Linked DNA regions of Homo sapiens: all the other regions are linked to region 2. Evidence: promoter capture Hi-C in 16 types of primary human blood cells and fetal thymus (Javierre and others, 2016). All regions are on one chromosome and are shown on one strand. The core of a region is centred on a gene start or on the middle of the fragment in contact, and the rest is flanking DNA. Distances in the headings are between cores, read along the strand shown.

Region 1 (3,514 bases), core at 516-3,015, 150 kb after region 2:
TCTAAATCAGTTTTGTGGAAATCATCTAACTTGAACCCTAGTGTTCCATTATTGGAACGCTGAGCATGTGGGAGTTATTCATATCCTACTGCTCAAGGTCATCGCCAAGATCTAATTTTTCCACTCATGCAAAAATTAAAAAAATTGCAGCCTCCGGCATAAATGGGTTAATAGCAGAGAAATACCTCAGTATTTAGAGACTACAGAAGGTGACTTTAAGTTGTTTTTTAAAAATTGTGGAGTTATTCAGGAAGATGATGATGTTGATATTATTATTTTAAGACCCAACATAGTGAGAAATATAATAATGATAATTTCAGCTTTTGTGAGAACTAGGCTGTTGGTTTTTATAGTCTCACATTTGTTTTCTAGTGAAGAATTAAGATTAGTGTTAGTTGTAAATTCACATATCTTGTACCTTTCTTTGTTAACCATTTTTTTGAGGGTAAGATACTGGAAATTTCTCTTTTAAAACATTACTTGTTAATCCAGTTCCCCTGCCCTGCTGCTCCTGGCTTTAGAAGTGTAATGCCAATATAAGATTTATGCTGTGCTGTTTAGGTGTTCTTTTATTGATTAGTATACACACATACACAAAAAAAGACTTAGAGAAAAACATTGCACTGACTCAAACCAACAATAGCCAGTGGTTTCCATTTTTTTCTGAACTAGCTTTCCTCTCATTTCCTAACTCTTCCTAACTTATTACACTTCTATCCCCTAGAGCGTTGTTGTTTGTTTGTTTGTTTGTTTGTTTTGAGAGACCTGGTCTCTCTCTGTTGCCCAAGCTGGTCTTAAACTCCTGTGCTCAAGTGATCCTTCTGCCTCAGCTTCCTGAATACCTGGGATTACTGGCGTGAGCCACTATGCCTGGCCCCTAAAGCTTTTTAAATTCTTCTTTCCTCGAGAGAGTTTAAAACTCTTTTTTTCTTAACATGGAGGCTTGCAGAAGTTGGTGATACTGACTTTCTTTGATTCCTTGTGCCAGACTTACATAGAAACTACCAAGCTACAAAGAAGCCACAGAGCCACAGGGATTGAGCTCCCTATCTAAAGATGTGTTGCCACAGACTCTTCTCTTCATTCCGGACGCCACTTAAGACTAAGCCCGAAGCTGCCGATAGCCATACCCAGCTGATTCTGATCTTTGTTCTATTGTTTCAGTTGATTTTGTTTACAGTCTTTTAAGAGGCATGGTTTTGCCTCAAACATTTTTACCTGTTTTCTTTGTGTACTTAAGAATGACTGGTTTACTCCTAAATTGTGCTCTAAAGTACAGTCCTCTTTCTTGGACAGGATCCATGCTGCAGAATGGTGTCTCTGATTTTGAGACCAAGTCTTTGACTATGCACTCTATTCACAATTCTCAACAACCCAGGAATGCTGCCAAATCTCTCTCAAGACCTACCACAGAAACTCAGTTTTCAAATATGGGGATGGAAGATGTTCCCCTCGCCACCAGTAAAAAGCTAAGTAAGTCAGAGGCCCACCTGTGAGAGAAAATGAAAAATCTGTGTTTTTGGCTAAAGAGGGCAAATTATCTCTGTTGCCATAAATAAGGTTTCAGAAGGGCATCAGTTAATATTTTTCCATTTTCCAGACAGTGACTGACTACTCAGCCCTTCCCCTAACCTTTGTGTACACAGTTGGAGTCTGAAAGTAGTTTAAATGCTGTACAATCTACTTACGACGGCACGTTTTGTGAATTAAAGTCAAACTCTACTGCCAGAATGATTTACCTGCTAACATTAACCTGTTTCTTTATTTGCTTTATTGCAACGTTTTGGTGCTATTTCTTTCATTTTTATCTTCTGGTTGACCCAACAAGTAAAAGCTCTACCTTCTCTGACATTGACTTTTTTTTTTTTTTTCCCCCGAGACTGAGTCTCACTTTGTCCCCCAGGCTGGAGTGCAGTGGCGCAGTCTTGGCTCACTGCAAGCTCCGCCTCCCGGGTTCATGCCATTCTCCTGCCTCAGCCTACCAAGTAGCTGGGACTACAGGCGAGTGCCACCATGCCCGGCTATTTTTTTGTATTTTTAGTAGAGATGGGGTTTCGCCGTGTTAGCCAGGATGGTCTCGATCTCCTGACCTCGTGATCCGCCTGTCTCGGCCTCCCAAAGTGCTGGAATTACAGGCGTGAGCCACTGCGCCCAGCCAACATTGACATTTTAAAGAAATATTTTCACTCCTCTTCATAACTTCATGCTCTTACTGAGCTAGAGTCCTCTGACAGACTCTAGCTTAGAAAAAGTAAGGTCATTTTCTCTTAAGTATGTGGCGTTGACTGGTGATAGCTCTTTGCTTAAAAAAAAAAGAAAACTACAATAATCATTTAAACAAACAGCCAGTAATTCAGCAGACAGAGATAATACCCTGTGTTTCCTATATCTGAGTTTCATACATCTAAGCATGGTGGTCCACTCCACTAAACAAATGAAACATAGAAATATAAAGGACACTTGTAATCAGTAGCTCTTTATGGAATTATTTATTACACATGAGCCAAATTTTAATTAGGTAAGCTCCCCTTTTTCATTGTTCTGGTAGCCCTCAGCCTGTTGCAGATCAGCAGGTTTGAGACTATCCAATCAAGCCAAAAAAAAAAAAAATATATATATATATATATATATATGCGCACAAGGCTTGAAAGCTTTTAGGTGGATTCTAAAAAATAAAATCAAGTTGAGATGAGGAAGAATTTAAATAAAAAAATTGGAAATGCATATCTTGGCATAGTTACAAACTTTTTAGATCCATGTTTCCAGCAATCAATTATATATGTAATTTGGGGATTGGTGAATATAGAAAGGTAAATAGAACTCTTGGAAATTGGTTAAAATGTGTTGAGTAGGTAAATGCAGTCCATCCTTTTCTACAAAGCTGGCTTCCTCATATATACAGTGCTTTGAAGTGTACTATACAGACAGAACATTTTAATTTTGTAATGTCCACATGGTGAATTATATTCTATTAAATCCTGTAACTTAAGGAATTTTGAAAATTTGGTACCTTTTTTAAAGTCTTTTTTCTCTGTGTGTTTCATTTCATTTTGGATAGTTTGTAAAACTGCTGTCTTCAACTGTATTCATCTTTTGTTAACAGTTTCTATTCTGCTGTTAATTCTATGCAGTATATGTCTCTGGCATTGTTTTATTTGTCTCTAGAAGTTCAACTGGGGTCTTTTAAGATATCTTCCATATCTCTTCTTACCACGCTTATGCTTTCCTCTACCTTCTTGAACATATGGTATCTATTTTTTTTTTTTTTTTTTTTGAGATGGAGTTTCACTCTTGTCACCCAGGCTGGAGTGCAATGGTGTGATTTCAGCTCACTGAAACCTCCGCCTCCCAGTGATTCTCCTGCCTCAGCCTCCCGAGTAGCTGGGATTACAGGTGCGTGCCACCACACCCAGCTAATTTTGTATTTTTAGTAGAGACAGGGTTTCACCATGCTGGCCAGGCTGGTCTTGAACTCCTGGCCTCAGGTGATCCACCCATCTTGGCCTCCCAAAGT
Region 2 (3,507 bases), core at 764-3,263:
TGCTAACCCAAGGATGGTCACACCGTGTCAGGGCTCGGGCACGCGCGGGTCACTTCACATTCTGAGCACAGACGCCTGGTCGATGCCCTGCTGTCCCTCCCTCCTCCCAACCTCCCTCCGCCTGGCCCCCGCCCCCTCCGCCCGCCTGGAAAAGGCAAATTTGACATTTTTAAATCCCGAGCCTTAGAGGGATCGATGCGGCCCGGGGGCCCCGCCCGGGGTCGATATTCCTGATTGGGAAGCGGCCGCTTCGCGGAGCCCGCGTGTAAATCACCTGGGCTGGGGGAGGGGGCGTGGGGAGCCTACCACGTCCCAGGCTCGCGAAGCCAGGAGGGGTCGGGACCCGGGCGGTACCGGAGGGCGACGGAATGAGAACGACAGGCCTTAGAGAACCAGAGAGAAGCCCGCCCAGGGCCTCCCCCTCCCCCGCTCAGCCCTGCCAACTCCCCCAGCAGGCTCCAGTCTCGCTTCAGCGGCCGCCACCCTTCGTTGCCCCTGGAGCCGCCGGGGAGGCCAGTGTCGGAGCCAGCCATGCGGCGGCTCCTCTCTGGCCGCTCCCGCGGGGCCGGGGCTTCGGCGGCTGCTGTCACGGAGCCGACAGGCCGGGCCGGCCGGGAAGGGGCGGGTGGCGGGGGGGAGAGGCGGCGGGGTGAGGCTGGCTCAGCGCTGGCACTCAGTGGGCGCGCAACGTATGTTTGCCGAATTGAAAGGCTGGGACACCGAGCGGCGCAGGGCAGAGGGTCGGAGGGCACAGGCGGGGTAGGAGATGGCCCAGACCGGGTGAGGGCAGAAGCCTCACTCACGGGGGAAGAAGGCACTCGAGGTCGCTCTGAGGACCGCTGGGCTGGGATAGACCACCCATCCCCCGCCGGGGAGACCCGGGTAGTAAAGAACAAGACAGAATGGGACAGGCAGGACGGTTTGGACCCCACCTACAAGCGCCTCCACCACCCCAGCCTCCGATCCTTGTCACGCTCTGCTGGGGAAACCGAGGCAGCCGATGCTGAGAATAGCCAAAAAGTTAAAAGCGGGGTCAGCGACGAAGCTGGGGCAGCAACCAGAATTCCTGCGTGGGTTTTTTGGATTCCTCCGCCCACGCGGGGCCAGTTTGCGGGTAAATGCACCACCGCGCCCCGCACCACAGCTCAGACCCTTTCCTCTCGCTGCAGTTTGTCAGATCCCCCCACCTCCCACTCTGCACCAGTTTATAGAACAACAATTTGGGGAAAACAATCCGGGCGGAGTGACGGCCCCGTAATTGTGACAAAGTGAGTGCGGGCGGCTGGAGAGAGCGCTAGGCCGGGAGCGCTGCAGGGCGAGGCGGAGGCAGGGGCGCCTCCCCCCGCCCTGCCGCCCCCTCGTTCTTATTCCGGTCACCTCCCATCCCTCTCCTTGACTCTTCAATTCCTCTTCTCCCGGCCCCTTGCGCCTTCCTTCGCTTGTTCCTCCATCGCTCTTCCCTTTCCTCCCGGTAACAGCTCTTCTCCCGCTCCCCCGACCCCGTCGCCCCTCCCCCGGTGCGCTTTTTCCTCGCTCACTTCTCCCCTCTCCTCTGCCCTCCACTCGTTTCTTCAGCTTTTCCTCGCGCTTACATTGCCCTTGGGCCCCTGGCTCTCCCCGCACAATCCGCTTCTCTCCCTCCCCACTCCTCCCTTCCTGAGATCGAACCCTGAGCCCCTTCCCGACCCCCACTCTCTGGGCCGCCAGCGCAGCCCCGCATTTCTGGGTTCCTCGGGAAGTAAACCTGGGGGCGCGCTGCGGCCCCGGGTGCCCCGGCGGCCAGCCCCTTCCCTCTCCCTTGTATGGCTGCCGCCCCCGCCCCACCACCTGAGCCGGGAGATAGTTTGTTTGTCCAGCGGCGGCCGCCGCCGCCCACGCTGTTTGCAAAGCTTAGCGCGCCGTCGCGCAGTGCGGGCCCAATTAAGTCTCATTCATTATTCAGCGCTCCTGTCCGCCCCCGCCCCCCAGCAGTCTGAGGCGTCGCTTTGGGGCCCCTCCCAGCCTAGGCCCCTCAGTGAGCCCTAAGAGGTCATATAGAGAGCAGCATTTCCTCTCCAGGCCGAGATGAGGGCTGAGGGCGTTTGGAGGGAAGCGCTCTGCCTACTGCCGGGAGGTGACACCCGCGAGGCCGACCGTCCCCCGAAGCCCCCGCAAGTCCAGACTGGGGGACCTCGGAGATCCACGAGATTGCCAGAGAAGGAAATTGAGGCCCAAGAAGCTGCATGACTTAGCCAAGTTCACGGAGTAGAACCCGGGATTGGAGCCCGGGACATTGAAATGAAGGCGTCTTGCATTGCAGCTCCGTTGCAGCGCAGAGGCGCAGGAAGGCAGACTACCACGAGCCTCGGGCTGCGGCCTCGCCCTCCTGGTCGAGCCTCCTGCCCTCCAACCCTCTGCTCCCGTTTCTCCCTCTGGTTCATAGCCCGCGGGACAGAGCAGCCCTGGATTGGGAGGCTCCTCAGGTCTCAGGCTCAGGTGCAGAAGCAGAGCCCCTAACTGGAAGGCTCGGAGGTGGGCCGGTGAGGCAAGCAAGCCCTGTGGGGGGTTGAGGACAGCTTGGGTTGGATGTCCCTCACTGCAGCCTGTCCGTGGATGTCTCTGCCTTAAGGGAATTGGAGGTGGAACCATCCAGTCTTGAAGGTCAACGGAGCGTGAAGAGAGGAGCGTGCAGCTTGAGGTGAGGGAGGAGTCACCTTTCAATTTGTGGGGGTGGGAGGAGGTAATCAAGGACGTATTCTTGCATTTACAGGAGTTTATCCTTTTTTTTAGCACTACAGATAGGAGCGTCCCTTGCTCCTGCCAGGCAGCCCCTCCATAGGGGCAGTCCTGTGCTGCTGTGCCTCGGTACCCGCACAAGGTGTCTGGGGACCGCCCGGACCCCCCCTTCCATCGGCGGCAGCGCCACCTGGCGGCCATGGTGCGGTGGTGTGGGAGGAGCTGGGCCCGGGCTGGGCACTGAGCCCACCGGAGCTGCAGGCGTCTGCAGAGCCTTGCACCGAGTTTCCCCGCGAGGGCGGGCGGGAGGAGTCCCAGGCGGGAATGTGATCCCCAGGGGGCCGGGGAGGGCCCTGGGGAGGAGCCTGGCCTGGGGAAGCCGGACTTCCGTGACACAACAGACACAAAAGACAAAGTCCATTTGGATGGAAGTGGGAGCAGGGCGAGACGGGCCATTTTCACTCTGTGGTCAAAGGAAATGACTGGTCTGACTCGGTCTGGGAGCGGGGCACCCAGGTATGGCCACTTGATTTGGAAGTAGCGGGTGCTGGCTGGTGGTCGCTCCAGATAGAGGGGACACTGGCAGGCACGCTTGGCGTCCAGTTTGATATTGTGAGGATTTGTCCAGCTGCTGTGGAGTGGCTTTCCAAGCCGGCCTCCGAAAGAGGTGGTTGAATTGTGGGGTGCCAAGGTCTAGGTCAAACGAAGTTTTCCAGAATATTTTAATAAAGGGAATTCAGGACCCCTTTCAAGTTTGACCTGTGGGAAAATCTCATGGCCTGGAGAGTTAGG
Region 3 (3,451 bases), core at 124-2,623, 250 kb before region 2:
CTTCTCTTCCACCTCACTCTAGGTGGTTCCAATGCTCAAAAATGGTAGTTGAATTTATCCTAATTATGTAATTCCAAGGAAAGCCCCTGAGATAGGCAGAGCTTGGAAGACTTAGGAGCCCTCTGATTCTCAGGTGGGTCCATCTGTTATTCTCACTGAGGATTACTTTTTAACCCCAAGATTATCGTTTAGACCCTAGGATAGCCCTAGAATAGACCCTAGAATAGATGTGTCCTGGTTCTAGGACACGTTTCCCATGCCAAAAGCAATGTCTGCCCAGCCCCTCCTCAGGTAGATGGTCTGGTGACCTGACCCTTGGCCACCCCTGTCCCAGCCCTTTTCAGTCTCTTCTTTTCGGCCCACAGAGCTTTTCTACAATCAGGTCAGGAGCCAGGCTTCTGTCTGCTACCTAGCCAGCTCCTGGCCCCCAGCTCACCCCAGCCCTTCCTGCCTGGCTGGGTGGCTGACCCCCGGTCCACGCCTCAGCCATTTCCCGTCTCGCCTGCCGCCATCCTCCTTTCCCCGCCCTCGCTGCCTCTACCAGCTTCACTCTCACTAGTCAGTCCCTCCTCCCCTCCCCATCCCAGACTATTCTAGTCGGGAGCCGTCCTAATTACTCTGTCCAGACTGCAAGGATTTTTCCCCCCCCTGGGGCTGGTGACAAGGGAAATCTCTAAGGCTAAACTCTCTGTAGGTGAAGCTGGACTCACCCACCTGGGCTGCCATAGGAAAACGGAGGAGCTGGCAGTGCCCCGGCGCAGGTAGGGAGAGGCCCTCCTTACCTCGGTCATCAGGCGGTCGGCTCCACTGTTCTCCTCATCCTTGAAGATGATGTCGGGGTTGTAGTTGGGCACGAGGTCCCGGAAGCGCTCGGAGCCCCTTGCCACCCTCCCCTCCGCTGGCCCACTGGCGCCCAGGGTCCGCTCTGGCACGCCGGGCACAAATTGCTTGTAGAGTAGCGGCACGAGCTGCTTGCGCGCATAGCGGCGCCGGCCAACCGGCCCCCGGCCCGGCCCGCAGCTCTGGGCTGGCAGCGCCAGAAGTGCCAAGCAGCACAGGGGCAGTAGATTGGTCAGGAGAGCCATGGATACAGCGGACCTCGGCCAAAAGGGAGCGTTCTTGTCCTCACTAACTCTCCTGTCAGTTAGGCATCTCCACAGGCACCAGAGAGGGCAGCAGGCACAGCTGCCCCCAGAGTGCCCTAGAGCTCTTGTGGCTCCGTGCACCTGGCTGCTGCTAGCTCTGCCCACGTGCCCCGGGAGCGGGCGGGGGGTGTCTAGGACCTGCTACTGACAAACCATCATAGCAGGGAAGGGGGGTCGTGGGTGAGTGCCAGCCCAGCCCGTCTCTGCTGCAGGACTCTGGTGCTGCCAGAACGCCCGGACTCCGGACTCCGCCTTAAGTGGCCCCTGGCCCCGCCCTCCGCCCTTCTCCCAAGACCGTCCCACCCCCTCCCACCCGGGCGGGGGATCTAGCCGGTCACTGCTGGTCCATTTTGCGACTGAAGTGTGTCCCATCCTGGAAACCAGGCAGACACCTGCCTAGGAAATACTTGTAGCTTTACAGTCCTTGGCTGCCTAAACATCCTTCTACCTCCAAGCTTAAACTTGGAACCAAACCACCCTCCTCTGATACTTGAATTGGAATTTTTACTCTCTCAAAGCCTACCCTGGCAGGCCATGCCCTCCGCTGTCATCCAGGAAGTATGGGTTCCAATTTCTGCCCAAGACCAGCCAAGCCCTTTGGGCATACAACCAGAGCCTCCCTTCTCTGTAGTCCTCCCCAGATCTCCCCGACTTCCATCTCTCCTCACATTCAGCATTAAGCAGGACTGGGAGGTGAGGATACCAGGGGCCCATTTCTCTACTAACTTTGCAGTCTCCTTTGGAACTTCCCCAGAACCAGGAACAGAGCTTGGTACTTATTGTCTCATTTAGGACTTCCAACTTTTTTCCCCTTCTCTTCTTTGCCAGGCATCTAATAGCTGCTGTTTTTCAAATGAATGACTTCTCAGTTGGAAGCTGCTGAAGGGCAGTGGACACTCAAAAGTCTTTGTAAGAGGTGAGGATCACTTCCCTTAACCGTCCATCTAGGCACCTCTCCAGCTTTCTCCCTCTCTGGACTCCCGGGGCTCCATTTTCAGCCACTCAGATCTCATCTCAGAGGCACCACGTCCAATTTCTTTTGTTTAGAAGTCATTTCTTCTAAGAAGCCTTCCTTGATGTCCCAACACTGCCCACCTGTGTTCCCTCGAGAACCATTACTTAACTGCAGTGTTAGAACAGTATTAGAATTATCTGGCACCTTACTAGACAAAGCAATCTTAAGCACACACATATTTATCATGTATCTCCAAGGTTAAGTGCCTACTCTACAGAAGGGTGCTTTGCAAGCATTTGTGGAATCTACACTTTGTGTTTCATATTCACCCTCCCCTCACCACACTCTATGGCTAGTACTCATAGCAACTTTGTGTACATCAGAAAAAACCAGGCCAGGCACAGTGGCTCACTCCTGTAATCCCAACACTTTGGGGGCGAGGCAAGGACTGCTTGAGGCCATGAGTTGAAGACCAACTTGGTCAACATAGTGACACCCCGTTTCAAAAAAAAAAAATTAATTAGTGGGAGGTAGTGGTACATGCCTGTAGTCTTAGGTACTCAGGAGGCTGAGGAAGGAGGATCACTTGGGTGCAAGAGTTCAAGGCTGTAGAGTGAGCTAAGATCATGCCACTGCACTCTAACCTGGGTGACAGAGTGAGGACCCCCCCCCCCAAAAAAAAGATGGCTGGGTGTTGTGGCTAACCCCTGTAATTCCATCATTTGGGGAGTCCAAGGTAGGTGGATCACTTGAGCTCAGGAGTTCAAGACCAGCCCAGGCAACATGGCAAAACCCCATCTCTACTAAAAATACAAAAATTAGCCAGGCATGGTAGCATGTGTCTGTTGTCCTAGCTATTCTGGAGCCTGAGCTGGAAGAATGGCTTGAGCCCAGAATGCGGAGGTTGCAGTGAGCTGAGATTGCACCACTGCACTCCAGCCAGGGTGATAGAGCCAGACCTTGTCTCACAAAAAAAAAAAAAAAAAAAAGAAGAAGAAAAAAGAAAAAAAAAGCACCCCTTCCTCAAGATGACTGACATTTATTAGAAAACTATCATAGTAACTATCCACACAATGACTATGAGGTGAATGGTGTCCCTGGAAGCTGTGCAATACACAATCTGTATAAGCCTAAGTTTTGCGCTCTTACTCCCAACATAGCACATGGGCTTTTCAAGAAACTGATGGCCTCTAGTAAAAAGCTAGATTCTTCTCTCAGGTAGGAAATGAAAATCCTTGTCAGCCAGCCACTTATTTTACTCTATATCCAATAGTTAAGCCAGGGAGGATAGGGCTGAAGGTATGAGTGTATCGGGGAGGTTAGCCTACTCCTATGCCCATGTCCTACCCCC

The links. The method cuts DNA at HindIII sites, captures the fragments that hold promoters and counts their contacts. A CHiCAGO score of 5 or more calls a contact.
Region 1: a contact is called between a fragment that was not itself captured here and the fragment with the promoter of DNAJC22 in region 2, in 1 of 17 cell types (megakaryocytes). The highest score is 5.5, in megakaryocytes.
Region 3: the fragment with the promoter of DHH here is called in contact with the fragment with the promoter of DNAJC22 in region 2 in 5 of 17 cell types (neutrophils, erythroblasts, M0 macrophages and 2 more); the score reaches 8.4 in neutrophils.

The regions. Positions count from the first base shown.
Region 1 is chr12:49,495,537-49,499,050 of GRCh38, forward strand. SPATS2 (spermatogenesis associated serine rich 2) reads left to right here. Exons shown (of 14, transcript NM_023071.4): 8 at 1,297-1,473. Among named protein-coding and RNA genes, the nearest start is that of KCNH3, 42 kb to the right of the region's middle. The HindIII fragment of the contact is 1,768 bases long and covers 882-2,649 here.
Region 2 is chr12:49,344,875-49,348,381 of GRCh38, forward strand. It overlaps DNAJC22 (DnaJ heat shock protein family (Hsp40) member C22), which reads left to right and starts at 2,014. Exons shown (of 4, transcript NM_001304944.2): 1 at 2,014-2,677; 2 at 2,770-3,231. RefSeq lists silencers at 339-528, 559-658, 679-798, 2,831-3,050 and an enhancer at 2,713-3,507. The HindIII fragment of the contact is 2,270 bases long and covers 1,888-3,507 here.
Region 3 is chr12:49,093,428-49,096,878 of GRCh38, forward strand. It overlaps DHH (desert hedgehog signaling molecule), which reads right to left and starts at 1,374. Exons shown (of 3, transcript NM_021044.4): 1 at 783-1,374. The coding sequence starts at 1,085. DHH-AS1 (DHH antisense RNA 1) reads left to right here. Exons shown (of 4, transcript XR_007063295.1): 3 at 695-761; 4 at 1,974-2,317. The HindIII fragment of the contact is 10,631 bases long and covers 1-1,598 here.